2 separate regions of the Homo sapiens genome follow, and region 1 is linked to region 2. The links are contacts of gene promoters, found by promoter capture Hi-C in blood cells and fetal thymus (Javierre and others, 2016). All regions are on one chromosome and are shown on one strand. Each heading gives the region's core, a stretch centred on a gene start or on the middle of the fragment in contact. The rest is flanking DNA. Distances are from core to core; before and after follow the strand shown.

Region 1 (6,722 bases), core at 3,837-6,336, 1.1 Mb before region 2:
CCATCTCCCCGGTTCAAGCAATTCTCCTGCCTCAGCCTCCCAAGTAGCTGGGATTACAGGCGCCCACCATCACACCCGGCTAATTTTCATATTTTTAGTAGAGACAGGGTTTCACCATGTTGGTCAGGCTGGTCTTGAACTCCTGACTTCAGGTGATCCGCACGCCTCAGCCTCCCAAAGTGCTGCGACTGCAGGCTGAGCCACCGTGCCCAGCCAGAATTTAAACTCTAACAGTTAAGGACTCCACCCTTTCCACCCCCAAATATGAGCTAAGCAGGCAGGTTAAGGACCCCATTCATGAGGCAGGTTACAGAGTCCAACCTCAAAAGACTAAAAGTAGGAAGACCATCTATCTTTTAAAAACTTCTTGGCTCACGCCTGTAATCCCAGCACTTTGGGAGGCCGAGACGGGCGGATCATGAGGTCAGGAGATCGAGACCATCCTGGCTAACACGGTGAAACCCCGTCTCTACTAAAAATACAAAAATTAGCCGGGCATGGTGGCGCGCGCCTGTAGTCCCAGCTACACGGGAGGCTGAGGCAGGAGAATGGCGTGAACCCGGGAGGCGGAGCTTGCAGTGAGTCGAGATCGCGCCACTGCACTCCAGCCTGGGCGACACAGCGAAACTCCGTCTCAAAAAAAAAAAAAAAAAAAAAACAACAACAAAAAACTTCTTCCTTTCTTTGGTAAATTTTTGGCAAGATTACAGTATTTTAGTCTGCAAAATGCCCCCATAATAACTGTTCTCTTTAAAGAGGAGAAAAGACAAAACACTAAGCCAATGCTACTTTTACTGCTAGTGACAGTATCTTCAAAGTATCAGATATCTTCAAAGATGGGCTTTTTTGTTTTGCACAATTTTTTAAATTTCCAAATTAGGCAGACTGATAATAACAAGCTGGTGAAAAATAGTCCTACTGACCCACATGAGATAATACTGAGAAACTATTCATCTTGGGCTATATATAAGGCATATGAGGACACCAACATCCTAAGAAACAAACCAAGAAGGTTATTTACCCCAGGAATTATCTCAAATTTTATACTTGGCATTATTGCTGCTCTTGATACATCTTACACAAGGTCAAACATCATTATCAATGACTAACTTCTATACTGTTTCAGCAGTAAAAATAGCAGTTTGGTGCTTGACCTCTTCAGTGGTGACAAGAAAGGTCAACAGCAGGAAGACACTGTCAGTAACCCTAACAAGCTTTGCTTCTCTCCCAGTAATACTTGATTCCAGAGCCGCAAGACTACAAGATGAACCCTTCATTCTAGACTGGCTCTGGGGTCAGCCCATACAGCTCTCTTTACACCTCAGATTTTTTCTTTCATCGAGAAGCTTGAAATATTAAGAAATATATTTCTCTGACAGAAAAATGCACCCATTTTATAAGAAGGCCATGAAAGGTTTGCTTCATTCAGCTCCCAATTCAATCATGTATCAAATGAAATCACTATTTTCTCAAAATCAGCTTTTCTTTTAAAAGTCCAAAGACTCAAGAGTAGTTATCTCTCCTTTCTTTACTCTTTTAACCCCCAACAGGGAAAATCAACTTGCTGTTCTGTCAAGTGCCAATTCAGGTAAGCAAAGGCTGAAGAAAGGGGAACTTAAAATCAGCATCAAATCAACCCCATCAGACAGCAACTTAAAGGAACTAATCAGGGGCAAGAAAAAGGATGCTGACATCAGATGGACTTGTTTTTACTGTTTCCAGAATATCAAAAACCCCAACAGCCCCAGTGAGAAGAGCAATGATGCTGCTATCTTACTAGTGATGATGCCACTTTCACACAATCATAAGTGTCTATCTGCTCCCATACTGGATCTTTAATCTAGGGATCTTCATCTAGGTGGGAGGGGTTTTTGCCTGGAAAATAAATAGTGAAAAGATGATTTAAATGACAGGCTTACGTAGTTTTCAGAATAGTCCAAATAATCTGAAAATGTTATCTTTCAAGGCTTGGCCCTGTGGCTTATGCCTGTAACCCCAGCACTTTGGGAGGCTCAATTCGAGTTCGAGACCAGCCTGACCAACATGGTGAAACCCCTTCTCTACTAAAAATACAAAAATTAGCCAGGCATGGTGGCGCATGCCTGTAATTCCAGCTACTGGAGGGCTGAGGCAGGAGGATCGCTTGAACCTGGGAGGCGAGGGTTGCAGTGAGTCCAGATGGTGCCACCGTACTCCAGCCTGGGCAACAGAGCGAGACTCCATCTCAAAAAAAAAAAAAAAGAAAAAGAAAAAAACAAAACTTTATCTTTCAAAATCTAAAATCCTGTGGTCCTGGGGTCATAGGCCGGGCATGGTGGCTCATGCCTGTAATCTCAGTACTTTGGGAGGCTAAGGCAGGCAGGTCACTTGAGCCCAGGAGTTCAAGACCAGCCTGTGCAAACTGGCAAAACCCCACCTCTACAAAAATTACAAAAAATTAGCTGGATGTGGTGGTGCGTGTCTGTGGTCCCAGCTACTCAGGGGGCTGAGGTGGGAGGATCACTTGAGCCAAAGAGGTCGGGGCTGCAGTGAGCTATGATGGCGCCACTGCACTCCAGCCTGGGCATCGGAGTGAGACCCTGTCTCAAAAAAAAAAAAAAAGAAAGAAAGAAAGAGAAAAGAAAAGAGAGAGAGAAGAGAAAAAAAAGAAAAGAAGAGAAGACCAGGCATGGTGGCTCACACCTGTAATCCCTGCACTTTGGGAGGCCGAGGTGGGTAGATCACCTGAGGTCAGGAATTCGAGACCAGCCTGGCCAACATGATGAAACGCCGTCTCTACTAAAAATAAAATAATTAGCTGGATGCGGTGGCGGGCTCCTGTAATCCCAGCTACTCGGGAGGCTGAGACAGGCAACTCGCTTGAACCCGGGAGGCAGAGGTTGCAGTGAGACAAGATCACACCACTCCAGCCTGGGCGACAAAAGCAAAACTCCGTCTCAAAAAAAAAAAAAAAAAAAAAAGACAGAAAGAAAAAAAAAGAAAAGAAAAAGAAAAGAAAGAAAAATAAAATTCTGTGGCCAACTGTTGCCCCTAACCAAATCCAGTGTGCCACAAAATGCCTGGGGACATAGCACACAGTCCATCACTATATGTTACAGGAGAAATATCCTGGGATTATCAAGTGAAAAGAAAGAAAAAAAAAATCTGGGCACGACTTTGCAGGGAACAGAGGAAAAGCTTACCAATCTCCAAGAAGAATAAGAGGGGAGACGTTCTTTTATGGATTAAAGAGTAAGTCATATGATAACAAACTGTACTATTCTAATTAGTTGATTCTGCAGAAGGTAGTATCTCCAGCACCCCTTAGTCAAATAACAAGCTTCCCACAGGGGCTGCCCTTAGGCTAGAATCACCACCAAGGACTGAGTTCACCAATCTCAGTCTGTTAATCAGTCCCTACCCCCGACACACAAATCCATCTAATAGTTAAATCTTCCTCACCCCTTCCTCTTCGTCCATTTCTTAGAATCTACCCTTCTTCACAAGCTCACTTGCTCAGGTGCTCTGCAATATAGAAACTGTCATAATAACTATACTAAAGTAGGACCCCAAGAAGCTACTCGTGCCACAAAAGCTCTCTAGTCTCCCTGACAGCTCTCTATGCTGAGGGAATTTGCATCACTTACATAGAGCGTACCCCGCTGGTAGATAACTGAGTTTGCTTCTCTATGACCTCTAGCTAAAGGGAAAACAAAACGAAACCAGACAGGAAGACAGAGATGTTCTGGAGAAGGGATTGGGATACGTGAGTCAACTGAAGTTGACTACTTCCAGTTGACAAGTTTACAAAAAAAAAAAAAGTCCAACGAAAGGTCTCTCGGGCCACATGGTTGGCAAGATCCAAGCTTGCCCAGAAGGCTTCAGAAAATGAAACCAAATCTGATTAAAATGGACATTTCAAAACAACAAGACACGCAGCAGCAAACGCACAGCTGCCATTTCCCGGCCACTTCCTGCGGGAGGCTGGGGGAGGGGCTGTTTGTGTACAGATAGAGGTGGAAAGCTATCCCCTCCGTCGTCCCCCAAAGCAGACAAATCTCTCACTCCAATTAACCCTACAAAGGACAACTGCTATTGACATTGCCTTCTCCTGAAAACTGGGAACACCGGGAAAGAAAGGGATGATGCGGTATCATCTTTCTGCCACGGAAGCGGGGATCCCCTCAGTGAGGAATCTCCTTGGAAAAAGGAATTCCTCTTTATTCTTCCCTTCTGCCCCTCAGCCCAGCTCAAATTGGAAAGCCTCAGCGGAAGCCCTATCAACCTCCATCCCCGGAGTGCGCGATTCTCCCGGGACGCGAGGGCCCCAAGCCAAGCGCAGCACCACCCTCAGCAAGGAAGGCCCTCTCCTGATCTTCACGCTCAAGAGAATGGGTGCGCTCCCCGAGGGAGACACCCTCAGACCCCTGGAAACCCCTTCCGCCCTCCACTCACCACAGTCAAAACGCCCAGCTCCCCGCAAACGGAGCGTTTTAACCCGCCAAGGGAACCCCCTCACCCACCCCTCGCGCTCAGGCAATCCCCACCCCCACCCGAGGAGGTGGAGCCCCTCCCGGGGATTCCACCCCAAGTCCCCCACAGGAGTCATCTCCACCAGCCAGGCGGCTTCTCCGCCTCCTCACTGTCGCCGGGAGCCCCTACAGCTCCTCCTGCCCCCGCGGCCCCGTCCGGGGTCCTCAGCAGCCCCACCAGCCCTGTTCTCCTCCCAGACCCCAGAGCAAGGAGACCCTCGCCTCGGGTTGGATCCTCGCAGGAAATAAGCTCCCGTCGGCTTCCCGCCCCGGCAAGGCTCAAGCCGGCTCTGGAGCTTCTGTTCCCCGAGGGAAGCCTCGGATGAAAGCGGGGCTCCCTCCCCCTCAGGCCCCTGGCCACAGACCCCACAAACCTGAGGCAGCGGCGTCCAGCCGGGCTCGGGGCTCGTCTCTCCCCGGGGTACAAGCGGTTCACATGGCCGCGCTCCGGGCGCCAGAACGGGTGGAGACGCCCGCTGGGGAGGGGGTCTGGGGTCCGGGGTTCGGGAAGGGGGAGGGGGACGCGGCTCAACCGCGGGGCCCGAGAGGAGCCAACATGGCCGGCGGGGGAGGAGTGAGTCGGAGCCGGAGGGGGCGGAGAAGCCTCGGCCGGGAGAGAGTCTCCCCACGCGGCCTCCGCCACAGGGTCCTAAAGCCCGCCAGCCCATCTTTCCGACCCGGACCTGGGTCCTAGCGCCGCTGTGCCTCCTGCAACTCTGGCCACCTTGCCCACCTGGCAGCTCCCTCTGCACCCGCATCTCATGGAGGCAGTGGTCCTGCTTCACACAGGGCAAACTGAAAGGCATGCCACAGTCCCAAGGTTAACTTAAAAGACTAGACCAAACGTCTAGGCCCAAAGGCAGGTGCCACTTCTCTAACAGGCTGGTAGGGGTAAGAGTCAGGGGAATTTCGGGGGCAGTTATTTCCCAGGTAGGGTAATGGAAACGTGGAAATAGAAAGGTTAGTCACTCAGGTCGCGATTCAGTAAAGGGATGGGGAGAGGCAAGAGTCAGCCACCCACTCACCTCTGTCCCTTCAGTGCAGCCTGGTCCTGCCTGGATCACCACTTTCCTGGCGACATCTGCAGGGCCCTGGTCACCGGAAAGGAAAGATTCCTGTGCGTGGGGGAAAGAAGGTTCGGCTCTGGAACCAGACAGCAAAGACCTGAGTGTAGCCTAAATGCAGTCAGAGAAGTAAAGGATAAGCTGAAAACTAATCAGCAAAAAGATGCCACAAATGTCCACCCATTCTATGGTTCTGGGAATTTTTTTCTGACAGGGCTACATAACTGTGTGAAAACTCAGAAAAGTAAAATCTAGCAGAGGACTAGAGTTTGGCTGTCACCTAAAATGTCCACTGCAGGGCACCAGGATGAAGAACAGTGTCATATGATGTTAGAGCTTAGAGAATTTCTAGTTCAGGCCGGACGCGGTGGCTCACGGCTGTAATCCCAGCACTTTGGGAGGCCGAGGCAGGTGGATCATGATGTCAGGAGTTCAAGACCAGCCTGACCAACATGATGAAACCCGGTCTCTACTAAAAATACAAAAATTAGCTGGGTGTGGTGGCGTGCCCCTGTAATCTCAGCTACTCAGGAGGCCGAGGCAAGAGAATCGCTTGAACCTGGGAGGTGGAGGTTGCAGTGAACTGAGATCGCGCCATTGCACTCCAGCCTGGGTGACAGAGGGAGACTCTATCTCAAAAAAAAAAAAAAAAAAAAATTCTAGTTCAACCTTCTCTCCTTCATCAAATGAAGAAATTAAGACCCAAAGAGGTTCAATGACTTCTTCAATGTCAAACAGTGGATAAAATATGACAAGAAAGGAAACCAGGTTTCCTTTCCTTGCAACTCAACACTTTGCAGCCTTGAAGATAATTCCCATTTAATTCAATGCAATGCAGTTCTAGAAACAGTTGCCTAAACTGTGCAAAGCTCAGGCTGCTGAATATTCTGGAAAAGCAACAGAGTGGGGATGATGAAACTCTGGCAAGTTGGGGTGTCAACAAATACGTTTTCCTCTGGGGGTCTGAGGAGGAAAGAGATCTGAAAAATGGGCAGAGTTGGGGGGTGAGATCCATCAGTCTACATTGGATTTCCTTACTCCACAGAGGGGTGGGCTCTTCCTGAATTTTGGGGAAAGACTCCACCCCTCCACCCCCCCACTACAAATGGCTCAGAGAGGATAAGAAGGAAGCTAGCTTTAGCAAAGG
Region 2 (6,908 bases), core at 4,403-6,902:
GAGGAGAAATCTCTAAAAGTTCCATGTCTGGACTGTCCATCTCAGGACGAGTCCTCAGTGAATGAAAAGGAACCCATGTAGCTTTAAGCCGCAAGCAGGCGGAGGGTACTGCCCACTCCGGCCTCCCCCTCCCGCGCACTTGTACTTTATCTGCAGGATCTCCACACCTCAGGACAGCGAGAAGGCGCTTTCGCAGCGCCCTCTGCTAAGAGTCGGGACGGGCTCTGCCCGAGTGTAGCCACACCGCCCCCAGCCTCAACTCGCCTTTTCCTTATTTCATGGGCATCCGTTCTCTCTGGCTGTCCCACATTTGCTCTGCACTAGTCAGTCCTTTCTGACGCTGTCAAAACCAGTTTCCCCAGCACTCTGTCTCGGGAAAGGCGTCCCTTCCTACCTGCAGCTCGTGTAGCCTCGACAGCCCCCCCTTGCAGAAAAGTTCGGCCAGAAAGCTGGGCGTAGAGGGGCCTGGGATGTCTGCCAAGCTCCGGCGTGCTGAGTGGTACTCTCGGTAGCCTAGGGAGGCGCCCAACTCGGGCGCCCAGCGGACGCGATGGAACACTCTGGAGGCGTACTTGAGGGTCTGGGTCATGGTCTGGTTCAGGGTGCTCGCGAAAGAAAGCGCTTCTCCTGAGCATCATATCTCAACCCCTATTTAACCTTTGGGTGAGGTGATGACGCCCCCTCTCCAAGCTCCTCAGCCAATCCCTCCTCCTGAGTGGTCTGTGCTGGGGATTAGCACCCAGGAACAGTAGGCGGGGCTGGGGCTGACTTCACAACTCCCTTGGGTCTCATGTTGCAATGACCCTCATGGGAGGGAGGGCCTAAGATTTTCCTCCTGGGAGAGTGCCTTTGTCTAGGAGCCTCAAAGTCTCATCCTAGGAAAGGCTATAAGGCTTTTTAGTAGGGACTAGGTGACCAAGCTACACTAGTCAGTCTCTGATATTCCCACTTCTACCAGTGAGCCCAGCCCCTTTAGGCCCATCCTCAGGAATTCCCCATCTTTCAGCTCCTCCAGGAAGGGAAGCAGGGGAGGCACAGCTGTAACTGTCCCCACATTCTTGGCTTAGTGGGTTGTATCTTCTCTGCATTATTTTCCTGCACTAGCCACACCTCCCCCTCCTCCTGTACCTAACATATACTGGGCAGATGGCAGGTGGGTTAATGGGCTAAAATGGCTCCTAGAACCTCCATCTTTCTTTCTTGAGGATAAGGGGGTCTCTTGGGTATACAAGCCCCCTCCTTCCAGACATGGGAATTTGGGGCTTGAGAAGCAGAAATGAAACTTTTTGTACATTAGTTAAGTTCAGAGATTGTCTGTGGGGTGTTAGAGGAGCTAAATGGATGTGGATGTTCTAATTCCCCAGCTGACTCGGTCTCCTCTGGGGGGCTTTCTGGTTAGCAGCTCCTTTCTACTTTTAGCCTCAGAATCCTGTGGTGGCTCATGCCTATAATCCCAGCACTTTGGGAGGCTGAGGCAGGAGGATGGCATGAGGCCAGGAGGTTGAGACAAGCTTGAGCAACATAGCAAGACTGTCTCTACAGAAGAAGTTTAAAAATTAGGCTGGGCACGGCAGCTCATGACTGTAATCCCAACACTTTGGGAGGCTAAGGTGGGCAGACTGCTTGAGCTCAGGAGTCTGAGACCAGCCTGGGCAACATAGTGGAACTGTCTCTACAAAAAATACAAAAATTAGCCAGGCATGGTGGCGTATGCCTGTAGTGCCTTGAGAGGCTGAGGTGGATTACATGAGCCCGGGAGGTCAAGGCTGCAGTGAGTTATGATTGTACCACTGCACTCCAGCCTAGGCAACAGAGAGAGGGCCTGTCTCTAAAAAAAATTAAAATAAAAGAATCTCCCACAGTTTACCTCTCTGCTCCTTACTCCCTCATTCCCCACTGCAACTCTATCAGGCTCTGTGCCAGTCAGCTAGCTCTGAAGTTCTGGAATTGAAGGTCAATGTGAAAAAGGAGAGGGTCTCCACCCCCACACCTTCCCAAGGACTCTCCAGAGACAACACTTAGGGAACACAGATTCCCCAGGTCAAGTCTTACGCAGGGAGAGGACAGGAGGATGGTAGAAGGCATATGATACATACTCCACCCTTTCCTGAGAAATGGCAGAATAGGCATGTGTACACATATACATGTTATCCCAGGATCCACAAAGCAAACAGAAGTGGTAATTGAGCCTAGCAAGCAGTTTAGATGGACTACATTCCTCATTCCAGCTGAGGAGAGATCTCACAAGGAGAAAGGAGTGCTAAGGAAGAGCAAGACCCCACAGCCTTCCAAAGATCCCCTATGGTCCAAAGTCCTTTGACCATCTCAGTCAGCTGCTTTGTTTTCTGTTGGCAGTGGAGGGACAAGGTGAGAGGAGCCAGGGGTAGTCATGAACACCAGTGGGTTCTGCCCTGGGCAGCTCCCCACCTTCTTTAAGAGAGTACTGTGTCTCAGCTCCAGCAGTCTCAACTGGGAAGACCCAGGACTCCTGCTCTTTTCTCTAATCCCTGGGAGACGAGGTCCAGCTAAGGTAGAGTAAGCAGTCAGTGACCAGGCAGGCTGGTTTGGGAGGTCACTGCCTGGAGGACGGGATCTTGTATTCTTCGGAAGATGGCTGGGAAATTCTTCCCTCCATTACGTAGAACTTTCTTCCCCTCCTCAGTTGAGGTGCCTAGATGTCCCACAACGGGGTCTTCACTCTGGGAGAAGGAAGGGTCCAATAAGTCCTTGCCCACTGTTCAGACTGCCCCTGGCCCTTAGACACCTATCCCATCCTCCTGGCACTGAGTTAAGTCCAAATACAGAACCACTCTGGAAAGGGCCTCCACCTCCTCTAGGTCCCCTACTCACCAGGTCCTCCAGAGGCACACGCTCAAACAGTGGGTGCTCTTCGAAATGAGTGCACATCCAGTCGTGTAGCTCCAGCACATCGGTTATGGTATACACCAGCCCCTGCATAGGCAAAATCACCCTAGACAGGAGGCTGCATGCAACGTCAGCAGCCAGATGAAGGAAGTGGTGGTGTGAGTCCCTAAATGCACCCCCACTGAATTCTTAGTGAAGGGCCCCTGAGTAGGCCACTCACCCCATCATCCCTCCGATCCCAACTCACCCCAACTCTTAGCACGTAGGCATATTCTGCTAGCAGGGTGGGACTGATGATTCGCCACTTGTGCTTTGTCCGCTTGAAATGTGGGTCGGGGAAGAGGAAGAACATCTTTGTCAGCTGTGAGACAGACACACACCAACAGGGTTGTGAGAGCCTGGCCTCCATGCCCCCACCTGCCTACCAGCCTAACCCACCAGGGCCCCTCCCCACCTGGCCCTTGTAGAAGAAGTTAGGAAGGTGCTTCATGGCATTGCTACGGAGACAGGCGATGTTCTGGAAGCCACCTGCAGGAGCTGCGCGTAGGGCCCGAATCCGGTCTTGTACATAGTCTGAGACCTTCACCCGGATCTCCAGACCCAGAATAAGTGTGTCTGGGAACAGCGGTGACAGTTCCACTGCACACAGAAATAGCAATGGAATCATCAACCATATACTTGTAGGAAGTGCAAAGGGGTCAACACAGGAAAGGAAGCCTCAACCTGCAACTACCAAAGTCCAGAACGGCAAGAGAGGACAGAGATACATATATGGATAGTTTTATGCTCAAGAGGCGGGGGGAGAAATGAAAATTGTCACCAGGACCAGAATGGGAGGGCTGAGGATACATGTATATTTGCCATTGCTTTAGAGTTTTCCACAGTGTTTTCACACATTGTGTTATTTCATCCTTATAACACTCTGTGGTAAATTGTGAAGATAAGGAAACTGAGGGTCAGATATGCCGAAGATCATAGAGTTAAGAAGGGGCAGAACTGGAACTTATTTATTTGAGATGGAGTCTTGCTCTGTCACCCAGGCTGGAGTGCAGTGGCACAATCTTGGCTCACTGCAATCTCTGCCTCCCAGGTTCAAGTAATTCTCCTGCCTCAGCCTCCTGAGTAGCTGGTCTTGAACTCCTGGCCTCAAGTGGTCCACCTGCCTCAGCCTCCCAAAGTGTTGGGATTACAGGTGTGAGCCACTGTGCCCAGGCAGAACTGGACCTTAAACCAAGGTTTTCTGCCTCTATGTACCATGCTCTTCTTCTCTATCAGGCTGTTATCTGTTTGGGAAGATCTAAAAATAGGGAGTGGCTTGGCATGCATGGGTGGGACAATACAGACAATACAAGAGGAACCCAAAAAACAGGAGAGTGGGGCAGAAGGAATGAGATCTGGCGAGGGAGGGGCAAAGGGGAGGGGAGATGGTAGAATCTCTGAGAAAAGACAGTTCAGGATCACTGGCCACAACGGCTAATCTCTGATGCTTGTGCTGACCAGCTCACTGACCCGGAACCTGGCAGATGAAATGGCTCATGTAGGGATTGACGCCAGAAAGGACAACCCAGGTTTTAAGAAGCATTTGAGGCAGCCCCCTCCACTCTCCAGGGCAAAGGTCACAGACCCAGAGTAGAGGGTAGGTGGAGCCTCTCCATGCTGATGTCACCAGTGTCTGGACGAAAGGGGAAAGGCCAATTATGACCCCCCACAAAAGTTGCTGAGGCAGCAGAAGCTACTAGGCCTCTTCTCACCCCAAAAAGAGGGCCTGAGTGTTACCTAACAGGCCACCATAGCCACAGCCTATGTCTGCAAACTCCACTTGGGCCTGAGCTCTCTTTTCTTTCTTATCCTTTGGGTCATCGTGGCTCTGATTTTGAGTGAGTGGAGCGAAGAACTCTGGGTATAGCTCAGACCAGTCCATCTCCTCTGGCTTCACAGGGCTATTGGAAAGAAGACATAAGAAGCATGAGAAGGTTGGTCACACCATTGCAGAAGTGGTACTGTGAGAGTGTGTGGGTGGGTGAGGGTGGGAGGTAAAAGGGAGGAGGGTTTCTCAAAAATTCTGTAACACTGGGCCCTGTGGCCTCTAAGAGGGACAATGGAAACCACCCTTAACTCCCAGTGTGAATCATAGGACCATCATGAGGCCCATAAACGCTGACCTGCCCAACTCCACTTCTGGCGGTTGATGTGACCCTGGCCGGGTAACTGCCCTTTCTGGGGCACAAGTTCCCCTTCTCCCGAGACTGGCTGCCTAATGCACTGGGATCCTACTTTGTGTTTGTGCTCTGCGGGGAGGGAAGGTAAGGTAAGGTGCGGGCAGGATTGTGTATATGTTTGCCTTTTTATTAAATCCAACAAACAAAAGCAAAAGATGGAAACGACATTCTGCCTCTATCACTTCAGTCTCAGTAACAATTTATTTCTCTTCCCAAACTTAGCACCGCTACCCAGACTTAGGCCCGAACGCCACGCCCACTCTCAACCCGCCAACTCCTCTCTCGGTCGAATCTCCCGGTCCCACCCCCAAAAACTGACGTCACCCATCTGATCCTCCCGGGTCTACCCCAAATCCTCCCAGCAGTTGCAGCACAACTGCTCTCCCGGCTGCTTTGAGAATCCCGCCCTCCTCTCTCTCCCTCTGCCCACTCCTCACTAGCGCAGCGTGTGGTCCGCCATGGGGTTGGAGTGAGCACGTTGCCGGTAGTAGCGCTTCTGGGGCGGTGGGGCCTCTGCTCCGGCCACGTTCCGAGTCTCGGCTGCCATGATCCCAGTCCGGGGTTTCTCTACCAAATCCACGTGGAGGCGCAGGCCAGAGGCGCAAGTTAATGACGCAGCCATGCGCGTTGGTGGCAGTTCCCGCCCCTTAAAGACCCAAGAGCAAATTCAGCTGGGCTGGGCTGGGCTGGGCTGGGCTAGGTGGGGAGGGCTGTAAGGAGCGAGTGCTGGAGGGAACCTCCGCACCGTTAGCCTCCAACTGGGAGGGCGAGGCCAGGCCCAGGGACCCAACGTTTTCTCTTAGCTTGCTTCTGCCTGGTCTGGGTTACCATCCTGGTTGCAGGCACCTGTGCACCCCACAGGTGAGAGGGGTCTAGAGACCTCGCCTTCTACAGTGGCATCAGTCCTCGCTCCTGTCCCCTTACTCCTGGTCTCGGACCAGTCCGCCCGGTCTGACTCTTGTGGTCCCGTGTGGGTTTCGTCGAGTGTGCGCTCGGGGCCGGGGCGGGAGGGGCAGCTCCTCATTCCACCTCCAGGAAATCGAACTGGAGGAAGGAGGGCAAACTCAGGGAGGCGGGGCTCGTTCCACAGGGACACCACGACGGCTCGCGGCCCCCAGCCTCTACCCCGCTCCGGATCCGGGATCTGAGCGCCGGCCGCGGTGCCCAGGCACTCCCTTGGCGGGCCGGATGGCGGACCCCGGCCCAGATCCCGAATCTGAGTCGGAATCGGTGTTCCCGCGGGAGGTCGGGCTCTTTGCAGACTCTTACTCGGAGAAGAGCCAGTTCTGTTTCTGTGGGCATGTGCTGACCATCACGCAGAACTTTGGGTCCCGCCTCGGGGTGGCGGCGCGCGTGTGGGACGCGGTGAGGAATGGGCTGCGCCGGGTGAGGGTCCGTGGGAGGTCCAGATCCCGGACTCCGCCTCTCCCATATGGAGCCATCCTCACGACTGTCTTTTTCTCTGTCTTTTCTCCCGTAGGCCCTGAGCCTGTGCAATTATTTCGAGAGTCAAAATGTGGATTTCCGAGGCAAGAAGGTGATCGAACTGGGTGCGGGGACAGGCATCGTGGGGATCTTGGCAGCGCTGCAGGGTGCGTGAGCTGGCTTTTTACGGGAGAGAGTGGGGACCCAGGGGCGCGGAGAAATGGTCACTTCGTGGATCTTTGGGGGAGAGGGGAGAACTTTGGGCCCAGTCTAACCCCTTCTTTTTAACAAATTTTTTTTTAAAATTTGTTTTTGTTTTTATTTTGGCGTCTGCTTCTGCGTGCCAGACAGCGCGAATTGCCTGTCAAAGCACCTAGGGTGGGTGATTGGGGAGGGCAG

Evidence for each region. Contacts are between HindIII fragments. The CHiCAGO score rates a contact against its expected background, and 5 or more counts as called.
Region 1: a contact is called between the fragment with the promoter of BAZ2A here and the fragment with the promoter of METTL1 in region 2, in 2 of 17 cell types (monocytes and naive CD4 T cells). The highest score is 6.8, in monocytes.

The regions. Positions count from the first base shown.
Region 1 is chr12:56,625,240-56,631,961 of GRCh38, forward strand. BAZ2A (bromodomain adjacent to zinc finger domain 2A) reads right to left here and starts at 5,087. Exons shown (of 29, transcript NM_001300905.2): 1 at 4,886-5,087. RefSeq lists enhancers at 1,964-2,465, 5,244-5,293, 5,324-5,393 and a silencer at 4,674-5,023. The HindIII fragment of the contact is 7,835 bases long and covers 3,844-6,722 here.
Region 2 is chr12:57,766,453-57,773,360 of GRCh38, forward strand. It overlaps METTL1 (methyltransferase 1, tRNA methylguanosine), which reads right to left and starts at 5,653. Exons shown (of 6, transcript NM_005371.6): 1 at 5,522-5,653; 2 at 4,642-4,805; 3 at 3,320-3,504; 4 at 3,113-3,226; 5 at 2,851-2,952; 6 at 2,019-2,699. The coding sequence starts at 5,631. The coding sequence ends at 2,544. EEF1AKMT3 (EEF1A lysine methyltransferase 3) reads left to right here and starts at 6,162. Exons shown (of 3, transcript NM_015433.3): 1 at 6,162-6,449; 2 at 6,565-6,676. The coding sequence starts at 6,273. It overlaps CYP27B1 (cytochrome P450 family 27 subfamily B member 1), which reads right to left and starts at 626. Exons shown (of 9, transcript NM_000785.4): 1 at 395-626. The coding sequence starts at 589. RefSeq lists enhancers at 4,512-5,711, 5,397-5,686, 5,817-6,326. The HindIII fragment of the contact is 5,954 bases long and covers 1,510-6,908 here.